Linked DNA regions of Homo sapiens: region 1 is linked to region 2. The links are contacts of gene promoters, found by promoter capture Hi-C in blood cells and fetal thymus (Javierre and others, 2016). All regions are on one chromosome and are shown on one strand. The core of a region is centred on a gene start or on the middle of the fragment in contact, and the rest is flanking DNA. Distances in the headings are between cores, read along the strand shown.

Region 1 (7,075 bases), core at 2,900-5,399, 170 kb after region 2:
GGCTTTATATCTAGGAAATTCTTTAGTACATAATCAGCTGACTCTGCCCTGTGAAATACTTACCTACTTAAGAGTGGGAACCCTTGTTCTCTGAAGCCTTTGCTATTGGGCTGTCTTACTATCTTCAGAGGACACATATGTCCATAATCTTACCATGTCTTTCCTCCTGAAGGATTGGCACAATCAGTCACACACTTTAGACCTTAGAGCCTCTGGGGTACATAGCGGAAATATGTTGAGTCTTGGCAAAAGAACGTACACTGTGTGAAACTGGCAAGTAGTGAGGCCAACCTGTGTGAGATATGTGAACTAAGTATGAAAAGAACACACATTCTGGCCGGGCGCAGTGGCTCACACCTGTAATCTCAGCACTTTGGGAGGCCAGTGCAGGTGGATCACCTGAGCTCAGGAGTTCGAGACCATCCTGGGCAACATGGTGAAACCCTGTCTCTACTAAAATACAAAAAATTAGCCAGGCGTGGTGGCACGCACCTGTACTCACAGCTACTTGGGAGGCTGAGGCATGAGAATCGCTTGAGCCCAGGAGGTTGCAGTGAGCCGAGATCATGCCACTGCACTCCAGCTTGGGCTACAGAGTGAGACTCCGTTTCAAACACACACACACACACACACACACACACACACTCCATGCATGAAAATAATATCTGAATAGCACTTTATAATATGAAAAGCACATTTACATACATTATCTGTTACCAATGCATCATTGTTAGGATAAGCCCTCTGAGTTATACATATGGATTTGCATTGTTTTAACATTCAATTCACCAAGGATTAAGCTTTTATTTTTTGCCAAGAAAACCTATATGGATATCTCAAAATGCTGTGTAGATCCTGAAAGATTTAAAAATGAATTCCATATAACTAGTGTAAGAGATGTGGGAGATAAACAGTTACTCTCACACATTATTGGTATGAGTGTAAGATATTGATGTACATTTTGAAAGGTGATTTGTTAATATTTGTGAAAATTAAATTGACATGCATTGTGTCTCAGAATTTTAACCACCAGAAAATTTTCCTATGGAAACATAGTCACAATTACACGAAGAGTTATGCATAGGGGTGTTCATTGCCCCTCTATTTATCATGGTGAAAAACTGGTAACTTAAATTTTCATCTATGGGGAAATGACTAAACTGTAACAGTTCCATAATTGGAATACTATCTACCCATTAAGAGGAATGGGGTAGCTGCATACAGCATGTGCTGAATGAAAAGATAAGGGACAGGTCAGATGTGGTGGCTCACGCCTGTAATCCCAGCACTTTGGGAGGCCAAGGCAGGAGGATTGCTTGAACTTAGGAATCTGAGATCAGCCTGGGCAACAGAGTGAGACCGCAACTCTACTAAAAAGAAAAAGAAAAATCAGTCAGGCATGGTGGTGTGTACCTGTCGTCCCAGCTACTTGGGAGGCTGAGGTGGGAGGATCACTTGAGATCAGAAGATTGAGGCTGCAGTGAGCCATGATCGCACCACTGCACCCCAGACTGGGTGACACAGCAAGACCCTGTCTCAAAAACTAAAAAAAAAATTTTTTAAGTGACAAAAGCAAGTTGAAGAATAAAATGTCTAAGATGAGGCTATAAAAAATCATTCAAAATTTGGAAGCAAGAGTAAGACGGGAAGAATAATGACTACCCCTACTTAAGATCTCCATGTCCTGCTCCTCAGAACCTGTGAATATGTTATGTTACATAGCTGGGGGAATTAAGGTTGCAAATCAGTTTACCTTGAAATAGGGGAGTTACCTTGAATTATCCAGGTGTGCCTGGTGTAATCCCAAGGATCCTTATAAGAGAAAAGGTGATGCGAAGATGGAGGCAGAGAGATTTGAGGATGCTATGCTGTTGGTTTTAAAGATGGAGGAAGAGGCCACGAACCAAGGAATGCGAGAAAGCAGCTTCAGAAGCTGGAAAAAGCATGGAAATATTCTCTCATAGAACCTCCAAAAGGAACATGGCCCTTCTGACATGGCTGTTTCAGCCCTTGTGAAACAGATTTCTAACTTCTGATCTCCAGAACTGTTAAGAGAATAAATGTGTGTTGTTTTAAGCCACCTAGTTTTTGGTAATTTGTTACAGCAGCACTAGGAAACAAATACAAAAGGAAAGATGACTACTTGATGCTTTAATGTCATGTTAAGATAATTTTTTTAACAGGCCTCTCTGAGGGTCATCTGACTCTCTAGGTCTAGATAATTGCAATTTAACACAATTGATGAGATTCCAGTGATTTTACAATTCTGTAAAACTGGCAAGATGCAGTGACATTGTTTTCTGTCCACCTAAAGAAGACACCACAGGGAGAAGGGGAGGGATGAATAAGTGGAGCACAGAGGATTTTTCAGGGCAGTGAAATTACTCTGTAGGATACTACATTGGTGGGTACATATCATTACATATTTGTCCAAACCCATAGAATGTACAACATCAAGAGTGAACCTTAATGTAAACTATGAACTTTGGGTGATTATGATGTGTCAATGTATCTTCATCAATTGTAACAAATGCACTACTCTGATGAGGGATGTTGATGAAGAGGGAGGCTATGCACTTGTGGGGGGAGGGGATATATGGAAAATCTTCCTACCTTCCTTTCAGTTTTGCTGTGAACCTAAAACTGCTCTTAAAAGTAGTCTTTTTTAAAAGAAAAACCTGGAATATAACATTATTGGATGAAACAATCAATTATGTTAATATTGACAATTGATTTAATAGAACTGTCTTGGCTCTAAAATTGTAATTTTAAATGCATCTTTGTAGAAATGAAACTATATCTTAAACTATATGTTCATTAAATTATTTTTTAAAAGACACCACTATTTTGGTTCTTATTGCCCTGTAGAACATTAACCAGCTTTGATTCTAATTTAGCAATCTTATTTTAGCATTCCTTTGGTGTTTTTACTGACTATATATAAAATACCTGTTTTCATATCCTCTTTTGAGTTGGCTGCCACCTTACTGGTTTCCTCCTCAATGAGTTAAATAAATCTTTGATACATATGAATTCTCTATTTGTATGAAACTTATGTTTATTTGTTTTAGATTTATTTTGAGAATCATATGTTAACAATGATCCCATTTTTGTAAAATACAAAACCAACAATATGGGGGGGTAGAGGAAAATGTTTCAAGCTTTTTTCAGCAGTTCTGTTTGGGAAGGTGGGAGAGAATACTAGAGATTTCTCCTGTGTTTAGTGTTTTGCAACATTTAGATTTTGTATAAATTTACACGATATTTGTAATCAGAAAAATACATTGCTTTAAAAAGTAAATATGTATGAAAATGATTCACACACAGTGTGTGCCCTCAACAAGTTTAAGATCTGGCTAAAGATAGAGACATGCTTCATTCAACTAAATAGAAATACAAGGCCAGTTATGATAGATGCCTTTGAAGGAAGAGGGCTATCATCTGTTGAGTGCTTATGAGATACCAAGGGCCATCTTGGATCATTAATATAGATTCATTTTATCATCACAATGACTCTGTGAGGTAGATTCTGTCTCTCTTTTTCATATAAAAAAGCTGAAGCTGAGAGTAACTTGCCCACGGTCACACAGCTACTAAGACAAAGAGCCAGAATTTAAGCCCTGGTCTTATTCCAAAGCTCATATTCTTTCCATTTTACTATACTACCTCCCATAGATGTTGGGACCCATGGTCTGGACTGGGTAGGACTGAAGTCAGTGAGCATTTTATACTCATTGTTGGTTCTTTAAATTGGGGCAGATCTATTCATACATCACACAGAAAACAGGCAAAAGGCGTCTGTTTCCAATATTTATCCAAACCAGCTCATGGTTTAGCCTTCTCTATATGGTTCCCTGCCCTCCATGTGCTTATATTCTTGGCTTTGGGCTCCAGCCCTTCTTCCTTTCCTGACCCGTTTGGCTCTGCTTCTCTGGTTTACCAACTTCTACCTGCCTCACTTGATTTTCCAACTTGCTCTTCTCCATCGGATTGGCTCACTTACCCATAAGACCTTCCTTCTGCCAGCCTCAACCCCCAGGTATCAACACCTGCTGGACAAGCTTCCTTGTCTCCCAGCCAGGAGAGTAGGATTAAACAGGCATAGCCAGGTCAGAAAACTTGAACTTCCCTGGGAGTGGCATGGAAGAATCATGTGCTTAGGGCGCCAAGCCAGGAATTCAGCACCAGAGCAGGAAAGCAGGAACTTATTTAATTAAGAATGAAGTTGAAAGCTTTTTAATTTTAATGAAGTCCAGCTTATCAATTATTCCATGGATCATACCTTTGGTATTGTATCTAAAAGGTCATCATCATATCCAATGTCATCTAGATTTTCTCCTATGTTATCTTCTAGGAGTTTTATCATTTTGTGTTTTACATTTAAGTCTCTGATCCATTTCGAGTTAATTTTTTGAAGGGTGTAAGGTCTGGGTGTTTTTTTTGTTTTTTGTTTGTTTGTTTGTTTGTTTCTGCATGTGTATGTCTGGTTATTCCAGTATTATTTGTTGAAAAGACCATCTTTGCTCCATGGTATTGCATTTGCTCCTTTACCAAACATCAGTTGACTATTTATGTGAGTCTATTTCTGGGCTATCTCTACTGTCCCATTGATCTATTTGTCTACCCTTTCACCAATACCACACAGTCTTGATTACTGTAGCTTTATAGTAAGTCTTGAAATTTGGTAGCGTCAACCTCTTTGTTCTTCCTTTCCAATACCAAGTTGGCTATTCTGGGCCTTTTGCTTCTCCATAAATACTTTAGAATCAGTTTATTGATATCCACAAAATAATTTGCTGGGATTTTGATTGGGATTGTATTCAAGCTATAGAAGAATTTGGGAAGAACTGACAGCTTGACAATATTGATTCTTCTTATCCATGAACATGGACTATTTCTTCATTTATTTAGTTATTATTTGATATCTTCCATCAAAGTTTTGTAGTTTTCTTTATATAGAACTTGTACTTATCTTGTTAAATTTATACTTAAGTATTTTATTTTGGGGGGTGCTAATGTAAATGTGCATATGAAAAGATATTTGACATCATATGTCATTAAGGAATTGCAAATTAAAACAACAACAAGATACTACTACACACCTGTTAGAATGTCCAAAATCCAAAACACTGATAATACCAAATGCTGTAGAGCAACAGGAACTCCATTTCATTGAAGGTGGGAATAAAAATGGTACAGTCAGTTTGGAAGACAATTTGGTAGTTTCTTACAAAACTAAATATACTCTTACCATACAATCCAGCAATCATGCTCCTTGATCTGTTATAAATTTCAAATTCTACTTGTTCATTGCTGGTATATAGGAAAGCAATTAATTTTTGTATATTAATTTTGTATCCTGCAACCCTGCTATAATTGTTTATTAGTTCCAGTTCCAGCAGTTTTTTGTCAATTATTTCAGATTTTCTGCATAGAAAATTATGTTAACTACAAAGACACTTTTATTTCTTTCTTCCCAATCCATATACAGTTTATTTCCTTTTCTTGCTTTATTGCATTATCTAGGACTTCCAATATGTTGGAATGCAGTGCTGAGATGAAACGTTCTTGCCTTTTTTTGTTGTTATTTGTCTTTTTGTTTTTTTCCTTGTTTCTGATCTTAGCAGAAAGCTCCAAGTTTCTCACCATGAAGTATGATGTTAGTTGTAGGTTTTTTGTTTTTTTTTTTAAATAGATGTTCTTGGCCAGGTGCGGTGGCTCACGACTGTAATCCCAGCACTCTGGGAGGCCGAGGTGGGTGGATCATGAGGTCAGGAGATCGAGACCATCCTGGCTAACACAGTGAAACCCCATCTCTACTAAAAATGTAAAAAAATAGCCGGGCATGGTGGCGGGCACCTGTAGTCCAGGTACTCGGGAGGCTGAGGCAGGAGAATGGCGTGAACCCTGGAGGCGGAGCTTGCAGTGAGACGAGATCACGCCACTGCACTCCAGCCTGGGTGACAGAGCGAGACTCCATCTAAAAAAAAAAAATAGATGTTCTTTATCAAATTGAGGAAATTCCCCTCCATTCCTAGTTTGTCAAACATTTTTATCATGCATGGATGTTAGATTTTGTCAGCTTTTTTCTGTATGTATTAATAGGATCATATGGTTGCTATTTAGTCTGTTAATATGATGAATTACATTAATTGATTTATAAATGATAGAACAGACTTTCATTCTTGGGATGAATCCCACTTGTTCTTGATATATTATTATTTTTTATATTGTTGGATTAAATTTGCTAATACTTTGTTAAGAATTTTTGCACCTATGTTCATGAGAGGTATTTGTCATTTTCTTGTAATGTTTTGTCTGGACTTGGTATTACGGTAATGCTGGCCTCATAAAATAAGTTGGGAATTGTTTCATTCTTTTCCACTTTCTGGGAAAGGTTATAGGCAGTTGGTATCATTTTATATCTTTCATTTCTAATATATGCATATAATGCCATAATTTTCCCCCTCAGCACTGCTTTCACTGCATTCCACAAATTTTGATAAGATGTATTTTAATTTTCATTTAGTTCAAAATATGTTTTAATTTCTAGACTTATTCTTTGACCTGTGAGTTATTTAGAACTGTATTGTTTAATTTCCAAATATCTGGGAACTTTTCAGCTATCTTTCTGTTACTGATTTCTAGCTTAATTTTTTTTTTGTCTGAGAATGCATTTTGTATGATTTCTATTCTTTTAAATGTGTTGAGTGTATTTTATCATCTAAAATGTGATATCTTTTTTTTTTTTTCAGATGGAGTTTCGCTGTTGTTGCCCAGGCTGGAGTGCAATGGCACAATCTCAGCTCACTGCAACCTCCACCTCCTGGGTTCAAGCAATTCTCCTGCCTCAGCCTCCCAAGTAGCTGGGATTACAGGCATGTGCCACCATGCCTGGCTAATTTTGTATTTTTGGTAGAGACAGGGTTTCACCATGTTGGTCCGGCTAGTCTTGAACTCCTGACCTCAGGTGATCCACTCGCCTCAGCCTCCCAAAGCATTGGAATTACAGGTGTGAGCCGTCATGCCCAGCCTCAAAATGTGATATCTTGATGAATGTTCCATGTGCACTTAG
Region 2 (7,191 bases), core at 782-3,281:
CACTGTACTTAGGGTGCAGCTTGGGGGGGCCTCTGAAGCAGCTGACTAGGGTCTGGAGGGCAGGGAGTATACTGAAGAAAGGTAGTGTGTCCCTAAGGCTAGGGAAAGCTTACACATACCTATGATGCACACACACAAATATATAAATATATGTACATATGAAAAGTAAAGCAAGAGCATGTTCATTTATTCATAATCTAACACCAAACTGCTACCACCAAGACAGAAATATAATGGCATTTCCCCTCCACCCTGTCCCTCTGTCCCAACCTCTTCAAGCCATTTGGTGGCTTCTGCTACCCCACCCTGTCCCTCTTCTCCCAGTGCAGGCTGCCTCGGGTACTCATTTTGACCTGATTTCAATTCCATCTGGTCAAACATGCTGGGAGGAGGGGAAGGGAGAAGGAGAAGCATGTAAGGATTTGCCACTGGGGCTAGACCTAAGCCCTTGTCACCCTCCCCAACCCTAGGGTGATCCTGCGGTGAGGAAGAAATGGAAAGCTCCAGCTTAAACCCTGAGACAGAAGCCAGAGCTGCCTGCAAACATTTTCTGAGCATCTATTAATATAATTTGCCAGTCTCCATCCATTTGCAGCTCACGTTAAGGGGCCCTGGAAAGCTCTGCAGTGGGTTCAGGAGAGCTATGAATTCCTCGCAATGTGTGAGGCTGTTCCTCCCTGCCTCAGCCCTAAAAGGGCTTGCCTCTTTTCTCTTTCCCCTTCTGTTCCTCCCCTAAGCTCCTTTCTCTCTTGACCTTGAGAGCCCAATGATGTGCTCCTTCCCATTATTGGAAGTCTGGCAAAGGCGACGAGAAGCAGCTGGGGTGGGGAAAAGAAGAGGCAAAGTGACAGGGGAAGAAGGGACAGACCCGAAAGTGCTGGAAACATTCCCTGCCATCTCCTAGTACTCCACAGCATAAGAGCAAGTCCTCATCACGCCCAACTGGGGAAAGCAGCCCAGCCCCCAGGTTGCAGAGGAGATGTTTTGGCCAGTCACCTTCCGTGATTGATTCCAACTCTGCAGAGGGGAAAACCTGCAGAGGGCCTGGCTCTGGTCATCCACAGAAGGCAAGGTGGGGATTACGGACTGTTTGCGGGAGAGAAAAAGCAGACTTTGCAGATTTTGTAGATTACCCCACACACAAAACAAAATAAAACAAAACATCTAGCTCTCCCTTGAGAGAAGGGGAAGAAACAAGAGCTTAGTGACCTTTATTTGGGCCAAGAATGCTTTGTCTCAAGGATCCAGATACATACCCAGGTGGCTGGAGGAATACTATCAGCTGTCTGCCTGGGATGAGGAATACCAGTCAGCCCCTAAAAATTGCTTGTTTTAGTAGCCCATTTTTCCCAGCTCTTTTCCTCTTTCCCTTTTGTTCTGCTCTAAAATAAATAAACTCTCCGCTTGCTAAACTCTTAGCTCACAGGGAGGGAATCAGACTTGTATACTGGTTGCCCGGACTTTGGGTGTGTGCTGGAAGGAGGGAAGGGCTCCTGCCAATGACAGGTGCTACGCAGGTCTCAGCCTTCTGGTTTACTTGGGATGGGGGGTATTCGCTGCGCAACCCCTCCCCCAACTGGCATTCAGTGGCTCCAGAACAGCATAGCCCACAAAAGAAATCGCTCTTGCCCAGCTGCTCCTTCCGAGCTGCAAAGTTGTTGAGAACGGAGGGTCCAGGTGGGGATAGGGGCTAAGGGGGTGGGACCAGAAACTGAGAAGGAAAAAAGGGGAGAGGTCCTCGCAATCCCATGGGAGTGCGCTCCTCATCACCCGTTTGCTTCACTTACCATCTCACTGTAGGCATCCTTGCTGAGCCTGGGGGTCAGCTTGATAGTCCCCATGAAAACAAAGAAGAGTCCCAGGGCCACTGAGAGGGCCACAATAGTTACGGTTCTGGGGGATGCCATGGGGTCGCCAAGGCAGGTCCCAACTAATCCTTCTGATTTGCGCACCCGCTCTGTCCAAGGTGCAGGCAGTTAGCACAGGGAGAGCTGGGGGGACGCTGCGGAGGCAGCAGGCAGCTAGAATGACAAAGGGAGAGGAGGGAGCTCGAGAGAAAAATTGAGAGATCGAGATTCAACCACTCTCACTACAACAAACGCTGGGTCCTAATGCCCTACGTGTGCTCACAGGCCAAAAGGACAGTCTCGAAGTTAAATGAAGCCCTAAAGGAAAGACGGAAACTTCAAATCTTAAATGGGGAGAAGGGAGGTTATGTATGAGTTCAGTCACCAAGTGACCCCAGGAATGAGGAATTAGGGAAGACAGGCTTTGCTGCCACCTTCCCACCGGGCTCACTTTTCATCTCCCCCTCCCACTTATCATCCTTCAGTTATTCACTCCCTTTTTCCATCTCTTCCTTTGTGTCCCCCTTTCCTTTTCCTAAATCAAAATATTAGCCCTCAGAGAGTTGTTTCTGAAGTTCGTAACACTCAAGGATAAAACTGCAAATTTGTCAGCCTTCAATGCTGCCAAAGAAGGCTTCCTCTTTCTCTTGCTCAGAAATCTTTAATGACTCTCATAGCCAGTGGTTAACTCCAGTTTTAAATTTGGAATTCAAGGCCCTCCACATTTTGACCCCTGTCTCTCTTTGGAGATTTAGTTTTCAATGGCTCCCACTGCCACACGCCACCACTCATCTATCTACTCACGGCCTCACACAACCTACGCCTTACCACCTCCTCTACCTTTAACTCCCTATCTTTTGACCCCGCCCCCCACCATCACTCTTCATTAGCATTAAACCTTTTCTTTAATGTCACCTCCTCTATAAAGCCTTTCCTGATCCATTGTCAGTTAGATATGATTTCTCCCTCCTCCAATTTTCTATAACAATAACCAATAATTGTCAACTGTTTACTAGATGCTAGACGCTGCCCTCTACTTGTATTAACTAATTTAATCTTTACAGCAACACTATGGACTAGGTATGAGTCCCCATGCTATGAATGGGCACATTGAGGGGCTGGGAAGGTAGGTAACTTGCCCAGGAGTATACAGCTAGTAAGTGGAGAGCCAGGCCTCAAACCTAGGCAGTCATTTCTAGGGCCCAGGCTCTTAACAATTGCTCTGCTGCCTCTCCTGTAATATTTTTCACTATTAGTGTGGTACTTAAAGTTGTTTAGCACTGTAAATGCTCACGCACACACACACAGAGTTTTGTTTTGTTTAGAGACAAAGTCTCACTCAAGTGATCCTCCATCTCAGCCTCCGGAGTAGCTGGGATCACAGGCACATGCCGCCATGCCTGGCTAATTTTTTTATTTTTTGTGGAGTCAGAGCCTTGTGATGTTGTCCAGGCTGATTTCTAACTCCTGGATTCAAGGGATCCTTCCGCCTCGGCCTCCCAGAGTGTTGCGATTACAGGCATGAGCCACGGAGCCCAGCCCTACACGATTTTTTTTTTTTTTGAGACCCTGCAGAGGGTCTCCCTCTGCAACCTCAACCTCGTGGGCTCAAGTGAGAGGCTCTCTCTTGTAGCTGGGACTACAAGTCTCTCAAGTAGCTGGGACTACAGGCACGTGTCACCACACCCGGGTAATTTATTTTTTATTTTCTGTAGACATGGGGCTACCTTATGTCAACCAGGCTGGTCTTGAACTCCTGGGCTCCAGCGATCCTCCTGCCTTGGCCTGCCAAAGCATTGGGATTACAGGCATGAGCCACCATGCTCAGCCCTAAACAATCATTTTTAATGATTGTATAAAACTTTAGCATCACTTGAATGTACTATAGTTCTCATTCATTTTGCATCCTATTGCTAGATATTGATGTTGTTTCCATGGTTTTTACTTTTACAAATAAAAATGTGATGCATGGCCAGGCGTGGTGGCTCACGCCTATAATCTCAGCAATTTGGGAGGCCGAGGCAGGCAGATCACCTGAAGTCAGGAGTTCAAGACCAGCCTGACCAGCATGGTGAAACTGTAACCTCCCAAGGGGTTCACCTTGCCCGCTGCCTAGACAGAGCCCATTCATCAAGACAGGGGAATTGCAACAGAGAAAGAGTAATTCACGCAGAGCCCACATGCGGGAGACCAGAGTTTTATTACTCAAATCAGTCTCCCTGACCATTTGGGGAGCAAAGTTTTTTGTTTGCTTGTTTTGTTGTGCTTTTTTGAGACAAAGTCTTGCTCTGTCGCTCAGGCTGGAGTGCAGTGGTGCAATCTAGGCTTGCTGCAACCTCCACCTCCTGGGTTCAAGTGATTTTCCTGCCTCAGCCTCCCCAGTAGCTGGGATTACAGGCATATGCCACCACACCTGGATAATTTTTGTATTTTTAGTAGAGACAGGGTTTCACCATATTGGCCAGGCTGGTCTCGAACTCCTAACCTCAGGTGATTTGCCCGCCTCGGCCTCCCAAAGTGCTGGGATTACAGGTGTGAGCCACCATGCCTGGCCGGGGAGCAGAGTTTTTAAGGATAACTTGGTAGGTCGGGGAAAGCCAGTGAGCCAGGAGTGCTGATTGGTCAAGGATGAAATCATAGGGAGTCAAAGCTGTTTTCTTGTGCTGAGTCAGTTCCTGGGTGGGGGCCATAAGATCACATGAGCCAGTTTATTGATCTGGGTGGTGCCAGCTGATTTATCAAGTGCAGGGTCTACAAAATATCTCAAACACTGATCTTTGGAGCAGTTTAGGGAGGCTCAGAATCTTATAGCCTCCAGCTGCATGACCCCTAAACCATAATTTCTGATCTTGTGGCTAATGTTAGTCCTACAAAGGCAATCTAGTCGCCAGGCAGGAAGGAGGTCTGCTTTGGGAAAGGGCTGTTACCATATTTGTTTAAACTATAAACTATAAACTACATTTCTCCCGAAGTTAGTTCAGCCTACCCCCAGGAATGAACAAGAACAGCTTGGAGGTTAGAAGCAAGATGGAGTCAGCTAAGTTAGATCTCTTTCACTCTCTCAGTCATAATTTTACAAAGGCGGTTTCAATCCCTCCCTTTGGGTTTTATAATACCTTAATCTTAAGGTATAGGCTATGAAGATGGGAAAAGGCCATCAATCACTCTGGCCTCTTCCTGCTGACAGGGGATGTAGTGGGATTGGGAGTGAACCCCAAGGTGAGAAGAGTGGAACTGCTTTACAATTAATTGTCTGAGCATACTCATGCCGGCCTGGTTGAGCTTCCAAGGCTTGTATGGCAAAAACATTAGTACTCTCATCTATAGTTTTACTACAGTGTTTAAGTGAACAGCCTATTTTACCTTATAAGGTAAATAATGAGTCCTAGGATGAGGAGTACAATTCCCAATTTTAAAAGCAGAGATTTGAAAGCATTAGTTTGGGGACTTCTAACCCACAAACAATTTAGAATTTAGTCTAAACTGCAGAAAAAAACTCAAGAACAGCTAACAACAGTGTACTATAGTTTTTTGAAGCATAATTTTTCTCTCTCCAGTCCCCATTTTTATTAAAAACAACATGATAGAACTGATTTGTTTACAAAATAAGCTTTAGTCTTACTGTATGTGGCCTGATTATTTGCATAAAGTGCAGCAAGAATATTTTTCACTTAGGGTTTTTTAATTGGCTTTGCTAGAACTCTGTTCCATGAAGAATCTCAGATAAGATGTTTTAAAAGCCGAGCCCAGCCGTGGGTTTGCACCCTCAAATACCTATGAGTTGGGCAAATTCCTCTCCTCTTGAGGTCCCAAGATAACTTGGGGTTCCTGGGCCTGTTAGAAAGTGACATTCTTTACTTACCACAGGACAGGAACCTTGCACAGGGACTCTGTGTGGATAAGGTATGAGGCCAGATGCCTCAATGGGCTTTAATTTGCTCTATAAGTCAACTTTGATTATTTAAAGGAAGCATGCCATTCCAGTCAAAGCCTTGGTAAAGTAACCAATTTCTCCAATTGTGTCCTGTTACAAAAGAAAACAAATTCTTATTGAATTTATGCAATTAACTATACTGCCATAAATTGAGAATACTCACAGATAGTTTCCAAATTCTGGAGAAATCAGGTAGAGAGGAACAAATATGCTCCAAATTTTGTCCACAGCAGTATATTTTACTCACTTGTTAACAGTTGCAAATAGCTCTAAAGAAATAAGTTCTCTTGACTCTGAAAACAAAGGGTCTAGCAATGTTTAATACATTAGCTCTCCATGAGAGTCCTAGAAGATTGGTTTTTCCTCTATTCCAATAGCTCAATTTTTAAAGTTATCTGAGACCTGCATTCAGAGTCCTATATCTGATTATAAACTGCCTTTTGAAAAGGACCAAAGGAAGACAAAATGTCTGTGGATGACAAAAGTCTATAGCCACTATTAAAGCTACAATTGGCTAGGAATTTTGGTTACTTCTGTGGCATACAACAATTTTACATATCAATTATGATTATTGATAATGTACACTAAATTATATCAACATTATAGAAGTTTCCCGTAATTTTGGAACACATACCAATAACATATTTATACAAATACAGTCCAAAGAAAACCAAACACCATTCACTCTTCTATTTGAAAGTATTTTTCAATTCTAATTTTACAATCTCCCAGAGTAATTAATCAGAAACTCACATTTAGGAGCACCTGTTAAATTTTATAGCTGATTATAAAATCATCTTTTAAAGAGGACCAAAGTGAGACAACAATTGTCTGTGGATGACAAAAACATTTTAGGGCAGCCACAGTTAAAGGCACAATTGACAAGGAAATTTACCTCTGTGGCACACAGTCATTTAACGTAATAATTATAATTATTACTGATAACATATACTAAGTCATATTAGAATTATAGCAGTTTTTGGCCAGGTGTGGTGGCTCATGCCTGTAATTCCAACACTTTGGGAGGCCGAGGTGGGCAGATCACGAGGTCAGGAGATTGAGACCATCTTGGCCAACATGGTGAAACCCTGTTTCTACTAAAAATACAAAAATTAGCTGGGCATGGCGGCACGCGCCTGTAGTCCCAGCTACTTGGGAGGCTGAGGCAGGAGAATCGCTTGAACCTGGGAGGCAGAGGTTGCAGTGAGCCGAGATCGTGCCACTGCACTCCAGCCTGGTGACAGAGCCAGACTCTGTCTCAAAAAAAAAAAAAAGAAAGAAAGAAAGAAAGAAAAAGAATTATAGCAGTTTTACATAATTTTGGAACATATACCAATGACACATTTACACAAATACAGACCAAAGAAAGCCAAACACCATTTCATATTTGACAATGCTTCCTGTATGGTT

Evidence for each region. The method cuts DNA at HindIII sites, captures the fragments that hold promoters and counts their contacts. A CHiCAGO score of 5 or more calls a contact.
Region 1: a fragment that was not itself captured here is called in contact with the fragment with the promoter of TMEM35A in region 2 in 1 of 17 cell types (naive B cells); the score reaches 5.4 in naive B cells.

Annotation. Positions count from the first base shown.
Region 1 is chrX:100,901,677-100,908,751 of GRCh38, reverse strand. It overlaps a transcript of XKRX not described here. Among named protein-coding and RNA genes, the nearest start is that of XKRX, 24 kb to the left of the region's middle. The HindIII fragment of the contact is 171 bases long and covers 4,064-4,234 here.
Region 2 is chrX:101,073,719-101,080,909 of GRCh38, reverse strand. TMEM35A (transmembrane protein 35A) reads right to left here and starts at 2,031. Exons shown (of 2, transcript NM_021637.3): 1 at 1,788-2,031. The coding sequence starts at 1,907. The HindIII fragment of the contact is 5,349 bases long and covers 111-5,459 here.